Linked DNA regions of Homo sapiens: region 1 is linked to region 2. The links are contacts of gene promoters, found by promoter capture Hi-C in human tissues and cell types (Jung and others, 2019). All regions are on one chromosome and are shown on one strand. The core of a region is centred on a gene start or on the middle of the fragment in contact, and the rest is flanking DNA. Distances in the headings are between cores, read along the strand shown.

Region 1 (4,976 bases), core at 119-2,618, 540 kb before region 2:
ATGGTGGCAGGCAAGACAGCGTATGCAGGGCAACTCCCTTTTATAAAACCATCAGATCTCGTGAGACTTATTCACTCCCATGAGGACAGCATGGGAAAAAGCCCACCCCCGTGATTCAGTTACCTCCCGCCGGGCCCCTTCTACAACATTTGGGAATTATTACAACTCAAGGTGAGACTTGGGTGGGGACACAGTGCCAAACCTTATCACCTTAGTATCACTAAGAGCTATCTAGTGTGATGTGAAGTTTTTAAATATGGCTGCCTCCCCATCTCCACTGCTCTGCCATTAGTCAATGTACATTGGTAGAATGCAAAGGAATATTTCCGCCTTTAAAAAGTTATTGCTTCATGTAGTTGCCTGTCTCAAATTATTTTACCATCATTGGTTAATCCTTCCCACATCTCAGAGTGTCTCAGATATTTGTGAAAATTTCAGATTCCTTTGCTACTCCCTACTGAATCAGACTATCTGATAGCACTCCAGGAATCTACGTGATAGTAAGCTTCCCTGCTGATTCTAGAACACACAAATATTTTAGAGCCACTAGTTCAGTTGATCTCTTCGCTGGGCTTTTCTAGCTCTGTTATTTCCTTTTAGAAGTGCAGTTATAAGACATCTACATATGGCCCAGGGTTAGCCTCATCAGCACACCCCCAGTAGGAAATTAGAGAGGTTTGGAAAACTTCACTGGACATATTTACGTGGTAGATTATCTCACACTTCTGGAGGTATTTAGTGGACTTATGAATAATTGGCCATATTAGAATCTAGGCATTCTCATTAAGACTAGCATATCCAGCAAACAGAATAAATCAAGCCTAAGGAGAACCAGGTCAACTCTGTATTAGTTTGTTTTTACACTGCTATAAAGAACGACCTGAGACTGAGTACTTTATGAAGAAAAAATCAATTCACACTTCCACATGGCTGGGGAGGTCTCAGGAAACTTACAATTATGGTGGAAGGCAAAGGGGAAGAAAAGCATATTTTCTCATGGTGACAGAAGGAGGACATAGGATATGTGCCACACACTTTCAAACAACCAAACCTCATGAGAACTCACTATTACCAGAACAGCAAAGGGGAGGTCCTCCCCATGATTCAATCACTTCCCACCAGGCTCCTCTCCCAACATGTGGGGATTGCAATTCAACATGAGATTTGGGTGAGGACACAGAGCCAAACCATATCAAACTCTAAGTTTGGTGGTGGAATTACAGCAACAACAGTGGAGATGACATATGGACATAGCCATGGAGATGGATGCAAGATCAACTCATGAGATCACCACTACCATTTCGAGATATGTATATGGATTCACACAAAAATGCCTGTGCATATAATTATCTCCTTTTTATAAAAGCAGAAATGGAAAGCTGCAGAAATCATCTCAGAAACAAATTGACCTTCACAGAATTATATAACTATCAAGGAGAAAAGCCAAGGCCCTTTTCCATTTGAATACTGTTATTTCATACAACTGAAAAATTGTATTTCTGTTTGATGTGCCTCTTCCCTCCTGATGATGCCTGATATTGTTGGACTTTTGGAAAATATTAATAGAGACAGATGTCTCTAAGAAACTGGAGTTCCCTAGGACTCTGGTTCTTGAGTTGTTTACCAAGAATATCAGTTACTTGCTAATTATATTTGGGGAAAAAAGGAAATTAATCTACAGGAAATAATAACAATAATATCACATCTTTTGATCATTGGTGGGACTAACTCTAATGTTCTAAGGAACAATTCTCTCTTGATTCATTCAGAATTTAATTTTGTTGAAAGTCCCATTGAATCATAATTAATGCTACAAAAGCACGATTTAACAAGAGCTTTGGGGTAGCCTTTTAAATATATGGTAGCTAATTAACTATAACTATACAATTTACAAACACATCTATTGAAGACTTGAAACTATGAGTAGATATATCCATCTTTTTCGTGCAGTAGCTATTACATCATAAAATTATTTTCAGTCGTTTGCTGATATTTTAAGACTTTCATTATAGTTAGATAATGTGCTTAAGACAAAATTTTTCTTCCTTTAAAATGACAGGAAATGACATTTAAGCTTTTGATAAATGTTACTTTATGACACTTGGAAACTAAAACTGACTGGGGATATAAAATGCTTATAAAATTCAAACAAAAAGTTTCTTCCAGTAACTGGCACTCTTTCCCAGTGCAGAAAGGCCCTAAGTTTTAATGATATCAACAGACAGAACACAATTATCTGTGAAGAAAAAGCTTAAATAATGACTCTGCCTTTTGCATGCCAAAAGCCACTATAATGAAAAAATTCTCACATTGTGTGTGTTTCTGTGTGTGATTTTAGTTGCTTATTGTCATTGTATTTTCAGCACTTGAGAACAAGGATTTAGCCTGGTTATTCTTTGTGGGCACAGCTCCTTACTTGTGCCAGCTCATAGTTTATGTTCAATAAACATGTGCCATTTGATTAACTGGTTATTAACTTGGCTGTTATTACAGTGTATGGTACCATTCAGCACCACTCAAAAACTCACATGAATGGAGGAAGAGTTGGCGTAGTAGTGGCAATGCACAGACATTACATACCTAAAGAAATAGACCTCTAAGTCTGTGCCCCAATTTGGCTGTATCAAACTTTTTGTTTGCTTGTTTTACTTAAGGGTAAATATTGATTTATTGAGTTTATAACCTGTACACAGATCCTGAGTGAAGTGTGTAAAATATATCCTTTCACTTAAATCTCACAGAAACCTCTATGGGAAGTATAATATCCTCAGTTTTATAGGTAAAGATACTTATATTCAAAGGGGCTAAGCAATTTGTTCAAGGTCAGAATCACTTAATTCAGGGGAAAAAATGACAGCAAGAGAAAATTATGGTGGCATGGCCAGCCCACAGTTCTCTTTACAGTCCATCAATTTCACCTCTTTATGTTAGCATAACATTTTCAGGCTACGATTCTGAAATGAGAGGTCAAAAGAAGAGTTGATAATAAAGCAACCTGAGATTTTTAAATTCACTCTGACTTCTAGTGTTTGCTGACTCTGACCATATCTTATTCTACTTGTGAGCTTAACTTCCTGGGTTCCCTGGTACACCTTCCTCCTAGATTTCTGAGATCATTTTCCTGTTATGTCACCTGAGGCCCTTCAGATTAGAACTTCAATCCCATGACCTTCACCAATTGCTCTGACATGGATTCATTTTTACTGCTTTGTGTAATGTTCTGCTTTTGTTCTTAACATTGAGCAATGCACCAACTACAAGGAATTTATTAATTTAATGCAAAGTATTGTGGTTTTTGCAATGAAAAGTAATAGCAAACCTGCAATTATTTTTTCACCAATCTTTACGACTCAAGAGAAAGACTCGAAGTATTTTTCCCTAAAACAAGTAAACAACAACAAGAGCCCCTGGCTAACACTGAAATTGAACGTTGACTTTATTTCTGTATCTGGGGGATTCTGATTCTTGTTCTTAGTTGTATGTTCACTTTGAGAAGTGCTTGCTTCCTCTCTGCTCTTCTTCTCTCCCTAACATTTCATATGCAACTATTGTGTTTTACTTCCATCCTTAGTTCTCTTCTTTCCATATGACTTCTCCCTTTTTTGTGCTATTCGCAACAGTTTAAATTATTCAATTTTAGCAATAAAGCCCAAAATACCAGGAGACTACTTAATAAAATAATTTTGTCCCTAGAAAGAATTTTCCTGAGCTAAACTCTAAAGTATTTACAGTGAGTCTTAATACTAAGTAAGAATAGGAGAATGGTGGTGATAGTAATCTAATAAACAACAAACATTTATTCAGTGACTTAATAAGTGCCTGGCACATTGCTAAGTATTTTATATGCATTCTTGTTTTTTTAATTTGTATAACTTTCAGATAGATACAACCACTGTTCCAAAAATGTGGAAACAAGCTGAAAAAAAAATCTAGTTCATTGTCTAAGATCATCCTATTGAGTCAGGATTCAAACCTATGCTTGTCTAAATCTAAACACAGAGCTATTAGCCACTAAAAGTGACCTCCTGGATCTTAGTATCCCTCTCTATACCAGTGTTTTTCTTTCTTTTACTGGAAGAAAATAAGACTTGTGTATTTCTAGAAACACGTCCAAGACCACACAACTAGTACATAATAGGGCCAGGATATCATCTTGGTTGCCTGAATCATTTCAGAACAGCAGGTAAAAATATCCTAGAAGGTATGACACATAAAGACATCATTGTCTTTATAAATTTGGGAGACATTGCTATAAAACATTGTACATTCCCTAAGAATGTCTAGCTTTGGTTCAAAGAAACAACTTTTATCACTCCCAAGAGCCACGTTACTCCACAGGCAACCTGAGTCGTCTTAGTGAAGCAGCGGAACCTGCCATTCCCATGCTTGTCGCCCAGTATGAGTGTCTTTTACAGTCTAGCTGAGCACTCAAGTCAGAACCCTGCCAGACATGTTAATAGGCAAAGCTTCTTTGGGGGAGCCAATAGGAGACGTGTGAAAGATTGCAGAGCCTCAGCCTCACATTGCTCTAAATTGTCTGTCACAGTGAGTCAGCCTCATCTGCCAGAAACAGAAGATAGAAGACCTAAGAAGAGACAACAGAGTCTCACCCTATAAATATGATATGGCAGGCACGTTCTTTAGAGACCTATAATGCTTATTATATTTCTATTTGGGGTGTGTGTGTGTGTGTGTGTGTGTGTGTGTGTGTGTGTGTGTGTTGGGGGGGTGTCCCAAGGACCTCCAGAAAACGTTTTGCTCTAGAATATAGATTTTAAAATACACACACACACACACACACACATATATATATATATATATATATATATATATATATATATATGTATATATATAAAATTGTCTCCAGAGAAATTTCTTAATAGCAAGCAGCCACCAAGTAAACATCTGGGGAAATTCATAGCGTTTGCTTCTTTCAGGGAATAAGAAGATTATTAAATAATTTCACACTGAAATTG
Region 2 (5,292 bases), core at 1,043-3,542:
TTACTTTCACAAAGTATTAGAAAAGAAAGGCCAAGGTACCTATGTGTGTATAGATGGGGAATGATGTAAGAAACACGCGGGTGGGGGATTAAAGTGTTTGAGATGACAATCAATTTCAATTGAAAGGAAAACTATTGAGGACTGAAGTCTTAAGAATAGTGGGCTGACCCTCTGTTTTTTGAAGCTTGCAGATTTGCTTTTTGTTTTTCTTTCACCCACTTCTCTTATGGATCAGTGAGTTTCCTAATAAAAATAAAGTAACCTAATTGTTATAGTTTTCTAAGTCTGCAAAATTATTGCTCTTTGGAGTCCCTGAGCCACATTTCCTATTCGTTTGCTTCCTCTGGCCCCATCATCACACATTTCTAAAGCTGACTCATAGGTCATGTGCATAAGAAATTTGTTACAACGATTCTGCTTGTACTTTGGCGTGATATTTTTTCTTACTTAATTTTCCTTGTCGTGATTACAATAGATGCAACCAATAGCTTTTAATAGGTGGCACATACTCATAACATGGTTTGCTCATGGTTTAGAAACACCAATAATTTAAAGTATGAATTCTGTAAATCTGCAACCACCCCCTCCCCCATTTTCAATCTCATTCATTTTCTAGCAGCATAAATCAGAAAGCAAAACCTTTGTTGCTTTAAAGATCCTGCTTTGCCTTTTTAAAATGTGTTCTTAAAGATGAAATAATTATGCTGCTTTCCTGGATCAAGATTTCAAAGGAAGAACCTCCTGCGGATACTTATGTACACTTACATACGAAAATGGATGTTTAAATGCAGGTAGATGAGTATTTGTCCTAAAATGTGATCTTCCTTGTTGATGCTGGAGCTTGAGGAGCTATCCCTATGCTCTGCTGCCACCTTGGAAACTCAGAAGGATTTACAACGGAGTTCTGCACAGGGGAAGCTGGAAGCAGCATTCCCACAGCCTCTTCTGGGGCTGGCAAGGCTCAGAGAGGCATTTGAAATGGCTATTATTGACACCCATAGACTTGGGTATGTTTCAGAGAGAAACTATAACATCTATCTCATGGGAAAACACACTTTCTCTGTTTTTAAATAACTCCGTTTCAGCAAGATCCATGTGTGTAGCCTCTGAATACTCTATAAAGGCTCCGTATTTCTTTCTTTCTTTCCTTAGTCCGGAATGGAGACAGAAGAAAGATTCGGTTGAAGATGTCCCTGTGTGGATCTCAGTTTGCGCTCTGAGCGACGTCCTGGCTCATTTGGGTGTGACGGTGAGAGCAGAGGCGCTCTGCTGACAGTTTTTTCTTGTCTAAGCTTCCATTCCGCATCCACAATATGACTCGCCTTCCACTCCAGTTAACTTCTTGGAAGTCCAGAGCACTTAGTCAAAGCTGTTTACAAAATGCAAAGCATCTGGGCGGCCAAGGCAGAGGCTCCTGTGTTCTCTATGTAACCGCCTCCAAAAAAGCTGGGAAATTTCGCGGATCAAAATGTAGGCGCTTAAAGCTGACCCTCTGCTGTCAATGTTGGGACTTAGATACATTTTTTGCATCGTCATTCTTGTGTGTGTTTCCCGTTTATTCCATTCTAAGGCTCAGGCTCGCGCTGTTTCTCTCGCGCGCGCTGTCCCCTCTCTCCATTTCCCATTCACACATCAAACTCCGTCCTCCGCACCCCTATCTTCCCGTGTCTTCTTAGTTATGTGAATGTGTGTCATTAGGCTTACTCGGACACTGGATGGGTGAGTGGGAGGCAGCTTTTCTTGCGGTTTCATTTACACTTGGCATGGGTGGGTGGGTGCCCTCCACAATTCGTCTCGCACACGGAACACAGTTAAAATCTGTAGCTAGAACGAGTGAAAAGTTCCGAATCTTTAAAGCGCAGCTAGGACAGGAAATAATACAGGGTTGGGGGATGTGGACGGGGGCGGAGAGCAGAGAAGTAAAGGAATAAAACCAACTTCGCTGGCAACTTCAATAAATCCGGTAACTGGAGGCAAAAAATAGACTCCGAGGGCTGGGTCTGGTCCGGATGAAACGCTAGGGCTCCTTCCCTTCCTTGAATCTTGGGCGCTGGAAGCCAGCCACGGGCGTCTTGCCACGCGAGTGCCCCTAGACAGCAACACACCCACTGGAAACGCACGTGAACAAAGCTCTCGCCCCCGGGAGCCGCTGCCTGCGGTTTCCTAGTCGATCCCAGCTTCTCTAGGGAGTGTCAGGCGCACACAGGGTTAAGTTAGTTCCCTCCCTGGTAGGAGGGAGAGGAGGAGGAGGGGAAAAGCAGCATACTGTCTCAGGCTGGGTACCTTGTAGTTAGTTGTACGTTCGAAACCTGTCGCCGTCACTTGCGCGTTTGGCATTATCCATTGTCACCGCGGAGGAACGAGCGCTCGAGATATCATCAGTGCCCGCAAATCTCCGCGCCAAGGCGCTGAGCTACTCCTTTCCGAGGTGCGCCTCTGGTCCTCCGTCCCTGGTGCCCAGCAGCGGCGAGGCGGCATCTCCGCTCCCGCCGCCGTGTCCACCGAGCCCTGGGATCAGGGTGGCAGTTCTCAACGATGGGCAGGAGGGACCTCGGCGGCGACCCCTAAAACAATACCATGCCCCGGGATCCCCGCTGCTGCCGCGCCAGCGTCTTCCCTTTCCACCTCCCTGACCCTGTCGGATTCGGATGAGCCCATTGCAAGGAGAAGACGCAGCCGTCAGGTAAAAGGGGCTGCGTTGCCAGGTGAAGTTTCCAGTAACCGGCCGAGCTGCTGCTACGCTGGCACCACGCTGTCTCTTCGGGGGATTTTTTTTTTTTGAAAGAGCTGGGGGTGGTCATCTTAAGTGGGGTGCTCTAGGCTTTGTCTTTCACCTGGAGAGAAAATAGGCAGCTTAGCTCTCTCTCGACTTTGGGGACATCTGTCTGCTGGTCGAATCCACCTCCTCTACGGAGCATCATGACTGAGTTCTGGGTCAAAACGCAAATTTTCTTGCCTGGTAGATGCATCGATGCTAAATTGGGGTTCTCAGTGCCCCTAACCTTGTCAGAGTTCAGTCTCCTACTTCCCTAGATTGAATCTCTTAACTTTCACCAGTAACAACCCTCTCCCCTCCACAAGCTGTTGTTAATGTCACCAGCGTTATTATCAGGCTGTTGTATCTAAAGACACCAACCTACTACCTGCCCGTAATCTGGGATCTATTAGCAGTTAAACAGATGCGGTGGATACTAATTCCTTTTCCTTCCAGTTGGTGGGGGCGGGTGGGGCTTTTTCCAAAACCAAGTCCCTTCCAGCCCTGCTTGTCCTCTTCGGGCTGGCGGGCACTGAGCTGGGGCCATCACGCCTTTCTAGAGCGCCTGCGGAGGTGGCGAAGGCTTGGAGAGCATACGAGGCGGAATCCGGATCGAGTGAGTTCCTTGAGCCGCTTGCGTGGGACGCAGGGAGAGGGCGAATAACGCCCTCAGGCGCTGAATGCAGGGGCAAGGAGCCAGCGAGGGTGGCTGGAGCAGGCCTTGCCAGCTGTTACCAAGTCTCTCCACAGGCTTGGGGGCTTGGGGCCTCCTGGAAAGATCCCTCCGCCGCGCTGACCAGTACGGGGCTCGCTCCCGCACTTTGAAGGCTGCCGCGGTCTTTCGTCATTTATAATCAAGCCCAAGATCAAGGTTGCAAGCTGAGGTCGGGGTACTGACAACGGGAATGAAGCCATAGGGGAAGAGGATAACTGGGACGGGCTGGACCCATACTTGATACCCGGGAAACTCCTAGAGCGTGTGGTGCTCCTGCCAGCGGCAGTTACTGGTGGAGCTGAGGCCACCGCTACTGTCGTCGTTGGCGCTTTGCTTCTGGAACCTCCCAGCAAGATGGCACTCACTGTCTGTTCCCTTCCGATTAGCACCCCCAGCCGCGCTCCCTCCTCCCCGGGATACGTATTAGTCACATACTGTGGGGAGAAGATGGGCTATGTAAATGTAAGTCAACGCGCTTTCCCAGCCACCTTTGCATAATGCAACAGGAACAGCGACCCGCGCGCACGAACCGGGTAGTGTGCGCGTGTGTGTGCTCGCGTGTGTGAGCGCGTGTGCCAGCGTGCGTCTCCGCGCGGGCGTGCGTCTGGGTGGATCCTTGCGTGGCTTGGGAGGCAAATCGGGCGTTTCTCCAAGTCGTCTTAACATGATTTAGGCTCTCAAATACGTGAAAGCGGTAGACACAACAGGGATGCGAAGGAAATAAAAAACAATTGGGGAAGTGGTGCCAAGTCACTCAGGCTTTGAACTGAGGACGAGTAGTGCGGTCGCGCCTGGGGCGCGTCCGGAAATCATCCTCAGCCTGTGGCGGCCACTGCCCCACTTAAACTCTTCTGCGGGGAGAGTTGAGCGGATCCCTGGGGGGTTGGTCCTGGGCTAGTTTTAAACTCTCCGGTTGCATCTCGCGTGGCCCCACCGACGGCGCGTCTCGGCGTAGCTCTTGGCGCGGGCTCGTTCTCCCTCTTCTGTTCAGATTCAGCCTCACCGGACTTGTTACAACATGACAGCAACTTACTGGAGGCAGGAAGAGCAGCACGAAATAAGATGAGAAAACCAAAAACATCTCCTCCTTCCTAAATAGAGACGTGCACCTAGCTTTTTTTACTTGTTTGTTTGTTTTTTACATTACCCTTTAACCTTTGGAAAGAGACTGCGAAGTGGAAACGTTGCCTGTACAGAAATCAGGCTTCTTAGCTGTCAAGACTGTTTCCTAATCTTTAGGCTGAATCTTTCTTTGTCCGCTGCAATCTATGGGGAAATTTAACAACGCTCTTGCCAGAAGCAGCCAGGTTGAAGGAAGAAAGTGGGGGTGTTTAAATTAATCCTATTAAATTTTGGATTACTCCCCCAGTTAAAGTCATTTAAGGTGGTCCAGGATGAGGGAACTAGTGATGGGGTGAGGAGTGGGGGGCACATCACCAAGGTTGCCTGCATTTGAAATAACGCCATTTTGGTTGAGAGGTTTGCTGTATTTTACCCTCTAATCTCACATTTCGATCATTTCTCAGTGTCTAAGTAATAGATCCTCCCTCTTGGCAGTACACCATTAAGCAGGTATGGGGAATTCTCCTTTCAGGGTTCAGATGGTGACATTATCCCTAAGGACTGGTGGTAGGAACGGCATGTGCCGGGTAGATAGAGAGAAGGTCAGGGTGGCATCTGCCGGGTTAGCCAGGCGCTCTTCAACTCTTTTCAGAGAGGACAGGGTTAAAAGCCAAGTCTGACTTTGCCTCTTGGAAATCACTGGGTAGCAGCCGCGCCTCCCAAGCATTCTTTAAACCAGAAAAGTAGGAGGGACTCCGGG

The links. Contacts are between HindIII fragments. The study calls those that stand out against the background at their distance.
Region 1: a contact is called between a fragment that was not itself captured here and the fragment with the promoter of FLRT2 in region 2, in 4 of the 25 tissues and cell types used here (H1 embryonic stem cells, heart left ventricle, hippocampus and 1 more).

What each region holds. Positions count from the first base shown.
Region 1 is chr14:84,984,130-84,989,105 of GRCh38, forward strand. No RefSeq gene overlaps it. Among named protein-coding and RNA genes, the nearest start is that of SNORD3P3, 290 kb to the right of the region's middle. The HindIII fragment of the contact is 3,980 bases long and covers 1-3,358 here.
Region 2 is chr14:85,527,852-85,533,143 of GRCh38, forward strand. FLRT2 (fibronectin leucine rich transmembrane protein 2) reads left to right here and starts at 2,293. Exons shown (of 2, transcript NM_013231.6): 1 at 2,293-2,683. It overlaps FLRT2-AS1 (FLRT2 antisense RNA 1), which reads right to left and starts at 3,808. Exons shown (of 2, transcript NR_184170.1): 1 at 766-3,808. The HindIII fragment of the contact is 3,489 bases long and covers 739-4,227 here.